2 separate regions of the Homo sapiens genome follow, and region 1 is linked to region 2. The links are contacts of gene promoters, found by promoter capture Hi-C in blood cells and fetal thymus (Javierre and others, 2016). All regions are on one chromosome and are shown on one strand. Each heading gives the region's core, a stretch centred on a gene start or on the middle of the fragment in contact. The rest is flanking DNA. Distances are from core to core; before and after follow the strand shown. Region 1 holds the start of TASOR (transcription activation suppressor). Region 2 holds the start of PDE12 (phosphodiesterase 12).

Evidence for each region. The method cuts DNA at HindIII sites, captures the fragments that hold promoters and counts their contacts. A CHiCAGO score of 5 or more calls a contact.
Region 1: a contact is called between a fragment that was not itself captured here and the fragment with the promoter of PDE12 in region 2, in 1 of 17 cell types (total B cells). The highest score is 5.4, in total B cells.

Annotation. Positions count from the first base shown.
Region 1 is chr3:56,680,205-56,684,620 of GRCh38, reverse strand. TASOR (transcription activation suppressor) reads left to right here and starts at 1,356. Exons shown (of 24, transcript NM_001365635.2): 1 at 1,356-1,945. The coding sequence starts at 1,615. RefSeq lists a silencer at 1,224-1,523 and enhancers at 1,664-1,833, 2,254-2,373, 1,581-2,525. The HindIII fragment of the contact is 596 bases long and covers 1,590-2,185 here.
Region 2 is chr3:57,553,262-57,558,287 of GRCh38, reverse strand. It overlaps PDE12 (phosphodiesterase 12), which reads right to left and starts at 2,014. Exons shown (of 3, transcript NM_177966.7): 1 at 601-2,014. The coding sequence starts at 1,908. It also overlaps a transcript of DNAH12 not described here. RefSeq lists enhancers at 1-184, 1,081-1,250, 1,741-2,520. The HindIII fragment of the contact is 2,707 bases long and covers 1,170-3,876 here.

The DNA.
Region 1 (4,416 bases), core at 638-3,137, 870 kb after region 2:
CTCCTTGGGAGACAGTTTGAGACTAGAGATCTGGGTCTCAAACCTGATCCTGCTGCTTGGCGACCCTCAACAAAATGTCAGCCCTCTGTTGCTTCGTCCATAAAATGAATAAAAGTGCACAGCTGCTGTGAAAATTAGGTCTTAGAGAAGCAGTCAGTGCAGTGCTTAAGTACTTACTCGGAGAGTTAAATAGACCCGGTTTCAAATCTTCGGTTACCATAATTTGTCCAGTGTCTTGCAACGCTTCTTTCAAATTCTGCAAACTAGTATCTACCTCATGTCTGTTGCTGTGAGGATTAAATGGAGACAATGCACGTAAATCACTTGTCCAGTCCGTGTCTAGCACGTAGAAAGCACTCAGTAAATATTGGCTGTACTCACGATAACCCGTGATAGTTTATACTGATAAGGTAGAAACCACTATGTAAAGGGCTCTTAACTATGAAGTTGTTCCCTTTATGGGAGAGCGACGACCTGCTGTGTATTTTTTAATGTGACCGCAAGTTTATTTTTTCTTTAATATACATTTACTATAGGAAAACGTTGATGAACGTTCCAGTGGAAGAAACAGTGGAGTTAGAGGTTTATCAGTGGCCAGATTTTTAACAGAAGTAACCATAGAAAGGGAACAAATGGAGGCCAGGTGCGGTCTCCATGGCGTGTGGTGGGGGGGGGTGCGACTAAAGGAAAAAAATGGGAAAAGTTAACAGCCTCCTCCCCTCAAACTCCCCAGAACCAAATCCTGTTAACACTAGGTTGTTAAGTCCCATCAGAGGATCTCAGGTGAAAGTGCTTGCTGGAGCTGTGACACTGGGTCACACTCTCTGAGATAAAAGAGAAGGCCGGGTGCGAGTAATCTATCATAAAGATACAAGATCCGGTGAGAATAGCAGGTCGCAAAGGCTGTCGAGGCTTTTAGGCTATTACCGCCTAGCCCATTCTTTTATCTCCTCTCCAGGTTTTTGTACACATGCAAATAGTTCATAAAACCGAGATCGTCCCGCATCCACTGCTCTGAAGCCCGTTTGGGCCGAGATAACTCGTGCGCAGAGGAAGGGTTTTGCCCACAAATGGGCGACGCCTGCGCTCCGGAGAAGAGGCCAAGCTAGTCTCCCTCGCCTGCAGCGCGGCGGGGGAATCCCCGGGAACCCGAAGATCGCCAGGGGCCCACGCATTCCGCAGGCCACGGCTGCGGCGTCGAGGTCCTCGCGGGGCGTTGCGGTCGCCCCTTTTGGCGGGCTCGGGCGCCCCGAAACTCCGCCCCCCGGCGCGGTATTTCCGCACTCGCGCAGGCGGGTGCCGCGCTCCCATTGGTGGAGTGGCCCGCGGTGGCCCCGCCCCCTCCCGGCCCCGACGCGCGCACGTTGAGTGGCGGGGGAAGGCAGAAGAACTGCCCGAGGGAGGAGCGGCTCCGAGGACCGGGCAGCGCATTTGGGGTGCCCGCTACAGGGCCCCCCAAGAGGCTGCCAGGTCGGGAGCGCAGCCTGAGGCCACGGGGGGAAGGGGGTGGGTGGGCTGAGAGCAGCTCGGCGGCGAGACTGGCCCGCCGCCCCTTCCCCCCACACCCGTCGACCTTGTGGGCAGAAGCTTCCCAGAGCTCCTTAGGCCGGCGCGATGGCGACTGCTGTGGAGACGGAGGCCTGTCAGCCGACGGATGCGAGTTGGGAAAGTGGCGGCGGCGGAGACGACGAGATGAAGCAGGCGCTTCCGGAGCTTGAGTCCTCCCAACAAAATGGCGGCGGCGGCGGCCTCAACATCGCTGAGCCCAGCGGCGGCGCTGGGCGTGAGGAGAACGCGGGGGCCGAGGCCGCCCAGAGCCTCAGCCACGAGCAGCCTCAGGACTCCTCTGAGGCGGGCGCGGCCGCCCTGCCCAGAGGCCCCGAAGAGCCCGAAAGGCCTGTTAGGAGGAGTTTTCAGATCCCCAGGAAGAGCAGAGAAAAGAAAGGTGGTGCCTCCCCTTCTTCTCAACCCCCTCTCTCTCTCCCCTCCATCTTTTCATTAGAATCTTTCTATCTCCTCTTCCCACACCCATCCGAGATACGTAAACACGCATGCAGCGCCGGCCGCCTCTCCCCTCACCGCCACGGCCGCCCAGCTGCCGCGTTTGGTGCGAGAGAAAGCGGTGGAACCACGCTCCCCTGCTGCCCCTCCCCGCGGAAGTTGGAAGTAGCTCAGGTTTGAAGCTTGTCCGTAAGGCTGCAGCTCCCAGAGAGGAAAGATGGTGCTCGGCGCCCCTCCCTCCCAGCCCCTGAAAGCAGAGAAGCCGTTGTGTCCTCCTAAGGATGCTTCTGAGAAGTCTCGCTATGGAAATAGCCCGTGGCCATGGATTCTGGGGCTTTCTCCAAGGCCATTGCCAATGTTCTGAGGACCATGAGTGCTTCTCCCCGTGGAAATTCTTCAGTTCTGTGTGTCTACTTGAAATGTGCTTGATGTCAGCGTCCTCCCTTATTTAGAAATCTCTATTAGTAGATGTGATCCATGCACACTGCTGTTTTCCATCACACTTCATTTCCATGTAGATTTTTCCCCCTTGTTTTTGAAGCGTTAGATTAAATAGGTTTTTCTCTCTTTAAATTCGAACTTAGTATTGTTTTTCTTATATTTGAAAAGAATGGAAAGGTAGGTTCTTGGAGCAGTAATTTCCCAATGGAAAAAAACTAATGAGAAGTTACCTTATTCTCAAGAGTCACCAACTTGGTCTTCTAGATGGTAGAACTTCAGGTTAAAAAAAAGTCCAGTCTTAGTTTTTGGAACCCATATGGAAACAGTTACATTAATTACTTGTACTTTTAAAAAATCTTAATGCCATATTGTTAATATGGAGTCAGAATTCCTAATGGAGGTCAAAATTAGTATCGTTTTTTGTTATTGGGGTATTATTTTTTAACTATCCAGTAAATTTTGGATATTCTGAATTTAGACAACTTCCTTTTTGCCCTACTGTATGGTTAGGTTTTCATTATTTACTTTGGAAAAAAATAGGATTTGTTTTTTTCCCGTATCTTTTCCATCCATCTGGTACAGAGTCTTGGCTGTAGCATTATACTGACTTTCCATAAGCATCACCAGTTCCATTTGCACTACTGGAATTGTTTGAGCCTTTTATTGGAAAAATACAAATAAAGTTCATTTGTTTGGATGGCAAAGCCAAGAAAATACTTGGTGTGAGAAACCATGTTGACAAAGATGAAGTTAACCTTTGGAAATTAGCATGAGGAATGTTTCTAGAAATATCTTTTGAGTTAATGTAATTTTAGGGTTCAGAAAGATACTTTTAAAGGTCAAAACTCAGTTCTTTTCGTGTATTTAGTTAAAATTTGAGATGTATGATTATAGTCTGTATGAGAAAAGTTCCCAGTGTAATCAATTGGTAGAGAATAGGTAGGAAGTACATTCAAATGGGCTCTGGTTATGAGGTAGGAGGTGGAACTATTTTTTTTCTTCACAGCTTGATAAAAGCCGTTTGAAATCTATTTTTAAGGTTTAAGTGCCTAAGAATATGGACAAACCGTGATTTTTTTTTTTTTTTTTTTACTGTTTGTTAGGACCAGAAGATTGGCCTAGAAACTCTTCAAAATTTAGTTTGAAATGTGGGAAGGCAGTAGGAACTGGAAAGGCACTGTGTTTGTGTGTTTTTTTAAAATTAGATAAAATCCAGAGATTGTTGTAAAATAGACTTCAGCTGAACACACTAAAAGTGGAAATAATTGAGGGATTAGGAAATATAAATCTAGCTGTTGTCCCCCATAGTCTTGTACCTCTTGGGTAAAACTTGTATTTTCCATTTTTACTTACAGACAAAAGTTGGGAGGAAAATATATCGCAGTGGACTTTGTCATGATTAGTGAAAATGAGCAATTTTTAACTTGTGTAATTATTTATACCCTGAACACCAGCTGTTCAAATAGTAAAATAGCGATTTAAATAGAACTTTAAAAAATTAAATAAGCAGCTATTTTACCACCATGAATTTTATCTTGTTCAAGCTGAGAGAAGTTAGTGGTTGCTGATAGAATTTAATACATAAATTCAACTTTATTAAAAAAATTCAAAAACAGTGCAGGTTCTGTTGCATTCATATTTTAATATGGTAGACCTTTTCTTGTGACTGTGCTTTTCCAGTGAAATTTAAGATTAGGACTTAAATATTTTAATACCTTAAAGGTCACTGCTATGCAAATACAACTTGACTCAGAAAGTTCTTTTTTTGGTCTTCCCAGTAGTGTGACATCCAAAATAACTGCCATTGTAATTGAGTAATAATATTGGCAAACACTTGTATAGTGCCTAATAAGTTGTGGGCATTGTTCTAAGCAATTTACATACATTGACTAAATCTCAACAATGTTTTGTGGTAGGTACTATTCCCATTTTACAGATGAGGAGACTAAAGTACTGAGAAGTTAGGTAACTTGC
Region 2 (5,026 bases), core at 765-3,264:
ATCCACCTCATGGGCTGTTGTGTGGAGTCAATTAAATGATCTTATAAGGTGCATGAAACACCTTAGGTACTTAAAAAATGGTAGCTGCTCTTCTTATTATGAACAAAATCAATTACTTAAAAACTTTAACACAAGAATGACATCTATAAAATGGGAATAGGGGACTTACTGTGAAGATTCAATGAGCCTATGATTTAAAAAAAACTAGTTTATATTTATGGAGCACTTCAAAACACACCACGCTCTTAAATTTTAAGTACTTTAAAATGTGCCAGAACAGTGCTTGGCAAGTAGTAAAAAACATTAGCTACTATTGTTCTTGCATTTAGCGTGTGTCCCTCTCGCTAGATTGTAAGCACTGTAAAAGTCCCTGCTAGTCTTGTTCAAGGCAACCTGCAGTATGGCAGGCACACCAGAGGTGTTCAAAAAATATCTGCTGAATGAATGAAGAGTAAACTTTGTGCTGAAGATACAAGGGCAAACACACCTTTCAACAATATCTGGATACTTTCATCGCACTTTTAACCCCCACCTCATTCCTCGCCTTCCTGGCCCCTAAAAGTGGGACAGTATGTGAAGAGACGGGCGGAACTACTTTACCTGAAGAACAGAAGATCTCTGGAGCACCTTCTCCTGCGCTGATGGGTACAAAACTAGTTTCTCCAGCAGTTCTTTGTGAAGTGGGTCGGACTCGAGGGCTTCGTAGAATGAAATGTCATGCTGGCTAAGAAGGCTGAACTTAGACTTTCGGTAGAAAGTGGCCAGGCCTTCGTGCTGCTTGATTCGAAACACCCCCTCGAGCCCGAAGGCCTCTAGGGCGGGTACCAAGCTGTCAGAAAACACTGCGCGGTCAACCTCCTGCAAACAGATGACATCGGCGTTGTAGCCGGTGAGTTCCTTCTGGATAAGGTTCTGGCGGTAGTCGAGCTCCAGGGCGTAGGGGGCACAGTATGGGTACAGAACCGTTCGCGAGAACTCAGTCTGCGCGTACGTGTCTGCCAGGATGTTGTAAGAGACAGTGCGGATGAGAGCGTCCTCAGTCACCTTCTTCGTGTAGAGATGCCGGTGGTCAAAAGTGCAGGTGCCAGGCCCAGCCTCTACCACACACACACTTTCCAACTCCCGGCTGTGCCCAAAGCGCTGCCCATCGCCTGGGGTGCAGTGAAGCTTGAGCCTTAGCCCGATGTCGGCATTGGACGGGGTGTAGACACGCTCCTCCACATCAGTCTCAGTCCAAGAAGAAGAAGGTGAGGAGGGAGACAATGACGAGGGGACACCGACCTCGGGCTCCGCCGCTCCGGGCTTGGCTTCCTTATACCAGCGGAAAAGGGAGCTGGCGGGATCCCCAAATTCGAGGCTGAGTTTGGGGCACACAGGGAACCCGGCCATGATGTAGCGCGGCAACTGCAGTTCGGTGAAGGCGGGCGGGTTGCGCTCCACCTTGTACTTAACATCGCCGATCTGCAGCACCGCGCCGTCTTGCCAGGCATCCACGTTGAGCACGTCCTCAGCCACTGCCTCTTCCCGGTAGTACAGCTTCACCACGGGCTCGCAGAACACAGCCGGCTCAGGCCCCGGCCCTGAACAGGCCGCACCGCCGCTAGCATTCGGCCGGCTCTTCCTGCTCTTCTTGGCGGCGGCCGCCTTAGCGTGACCCTTTAGGGCATTGGTAGCGATGCGGCTGAGGACTCGACCCAGCGGCTCGCTCTGGTCGCGCTGCATGTTCTTGTGGCTACCATCAGCCAAAGCGAATGACAGGCTCAGCTTGGGTTCCGAAGGTACGCAGCGCACTACAGCGCGCTCCATCGCTCCCGCCGCTGTCTGGCTCCCCGCTTCAGCCCGGCTCAGCTTCTCCACCGCCGTCCGGATCACCCGAAGCGCGGCGCGGGCGCCTGGGAGCCTCCACATGAACCTGGTGGCCTAGCGGTCGACAAGACCCGCGGCCGATCAGCGGCCTACTGTCAGGTGGAGCTGAGGAGCCGAGGCCGCCGGCTTTGACTCATTCAGATCTCGCGACTTCCGGCTAGCGAAGAGAGGGAATGAAGTGCTTCCGACTCGCACTTTCGCCTAGCGCGTGGGCACGCATGTCTGTAATACTCTGAAGATTAATTTTTACCTACACGATAGGTCAGAATTATAGGGAAGTGAAGAAAATATAAAGGTGTCAGAGGAAAATACTAGATTCCACGGTTTTGTCGAAAGTGCATGCTGGTGACGGGAGGGCATGCCCTCCAAGCCGGAAGTGGATAGGGTGGTGTCACGTGTTCCGCTTCGTTGGAGGAGGTGGACACCTGTCTTGGAATCTTGGCTGACCAGCTCTCCTCCCTGCGCCCGGGACTGGACTGCGCTAGGACGTGGAGGCCTCCACCCGGATTGCGAGCTTTACTCGCAGTGTGGAAGGTGTTGCCCATTTCATCTCCACAGCTTTGCCGACCCTGATCGCTCGTTTCGGTGGCCTGGTGGGTTCACCCCAGGCTGAGCCAGCGCCTACGCACCTCTGAGCAGAGCCTTTGTGGTAGTTAACAACGAACGATATACAATAACTCCGTTTAGTGAGCGCAGACTATGCGAGAAACGCTACACACACTATCTTATTTAAGCCTCATAGTTCTTATGAGGTAGGTCTCTTTATCCATCGCTTTACAGATGCAGAGTCCCGAGATATTACCTGCTCAGGGTCACACAACTATTAATTGGCAGAAAGAAATAGTACTGACAAACTGCGGAAGGCTGTTTGTTATTTTTTATTAGAGACAGGTTGTCACTTTGACGCCCAAGCTGGAGTGCAGTGGCCTGATCATAGCTCACTGCCCCCTCGAACTCCAGGGCTCGTGCGATCCTCCCGCCTAACCCTCTCAAGTACAAACAGGCAAGAGCCACCCAGTGTTTATTTTTAGTTAGTAAATAGGAAGACTCTATTTAGTTACTACATTTAACAAATAAAATTACAGGATCTCAGTTAAATTCAATTTCAGATAAGGAATAATAATGGGGCATATATTAAGAAATAGTTGTTTATCTGTTTATTTTATTTTTTTATTTTTTAGGTAGGGCCTTGCTCTTTCACCCAAGCTGGAGTGCAGCTGTGCGATCTTGGCTTACTGCAACTTCGGCTTCCAGAGTTCAAGCGATTCTCGTGCCTCAGCCTCCCAAGTAGCTGGGACTACAGGCACACACCACCACGCCCAGCTAATTTTTGTATTTTAGTAGAGAAGGGCTTCACCATGTTTCCTGGGCTGGTCGCGAACTCCTGGCCTCAAGCAAGCCCCCCGCCTTACCCTCCCAAAATTCTGGGATAACAAGTGAAAACCACCTCCCCTGGCCTAAGGAATCGTGCACTTTATTGCTATTTCTTTTAAAGGTCTTAAAGACGCCGGGCCCAGTGGCTCACGTCTGTAATCCCAGCACTTTGGGAGGCTGAGGCGGGTGGATCGCCTAAGGTCAGGAGTTCGAGACCAGCCTGGCCAACATAGTGAAACCCCGTCTCTACTAAAAATACAAAAAATTAGCTGGGCATGGTGGCGCACACCTGTAATCCCAGCTACTAGGGAGGCTGAGGCAGGAGAATCGCTTGAACCTGGGAGATGGAGGTCATAGTGAGTTGAGATCATGCCATTGCACTCCAGCCTGGGCAACAAGAGTGAAACTCCGTCTCAAAACAAAACAAAAAAAGGTCTTGAAGAACGAATGAATTGCTTTACCTGTAGACCAGAAAGAGGTCCAGTGTGATGAGTAAGGTGAGACCAGGGGAGAGTAGCAGATAAGAAAGATATGCATCCACCAAATTGTGTAGTGCATTCTAAGCCATAGTATGAAGTTCTGGATTTCTTCTAAGAGGGCCATTAGAGTTGTTTTGCTTGCAATTATGGAAAAGCTTTAATTTTCATTTTCTTGAAAGGGGAAAAGCTAAAAACATTTGGTTTTAATTGCAAGAAAAAAGGTGTTTGATACTGTAATTGTCATTGGCCTCCATGTAATTATTTTTTTATTTTTTTATTTTTGAGATGGAGCCTCACTCTGTCACCCAGGCTGGAGTGCAGTGGTGTGATCTCGGCTCACTGCAGCCTCCACCTCCCGGGTTCAAGCGATTCTCATGCCTCAGCCTCCCAAGTAGCTGAGATTACAGGTGTGCACTGCCATGTCTGGCTAATTTTTGTATTTTTAGTAGAGATGGAATTTCACTGTCTCTACTAAATATGTTAAAACGCCGTCTCTACTAAAAATACAAAAATTAGACGGGGTTTCATTATCTCTACTAAACATGGTGAAACCCTGTCTCTACTAAAAATACAAAAATTAGCCGGGCGCAGTGGTGTTCGCCTGTAATCCCAGCTACTCAGGAGGCCGAGGCAGGACAATCTTTTGAACCTGGGAGGCAGAGGTTGCAGTGAGCCGAGATCGCGCCACTGCCCTCCAGCTTGGGAGACAGCAAGACTCTGTCTCGGAAAAAAAAAAAAAAGAAATATCTTCAGAATTTAATTTAGACATTTTGCCTACATCAATTGGTCAGACAGATTTATGCTTTCTTTGCTAGATGTTTTAAAGTCATAAAACTGTTGCTTCCGTGATATTTTTAATACTTGCTTGATTTGTGTATAAGTTAAAACTATGAGGTCAGGCTGCGGGGCTCCCCTGAAACCTTGCACACATTTTGATATGAGCTTTTGTCTTTGGCTTTGGGCCTCTGGATTCTGAGATCTAGACAGGTGGCCATGGTGAAGCCTGGAAACGTGTGTGTCTGTATCACCTGGACTACCAGCTGCATGTAAAGCTGAGTGCAGTATGGCCCTGTCCTCCCTGGCGCAACTCTGCATCCTTATCATGTTGGGAGGGGTTGGAACCTCCACCATCATCTTCACAGCTTTATCCTCTGTACTGGGCTCTATACCTGGTATGTAAATCCAGGACACAGATGGGCTCTGCCCTTCATAGCTGTCCTGGATGCCACATGGATACTCAGGAACAGGGTGACTGGGGTTGGAGAAGGACAAAGGGATATTGGGAAAAGTGCCTCTGTCCAATATCT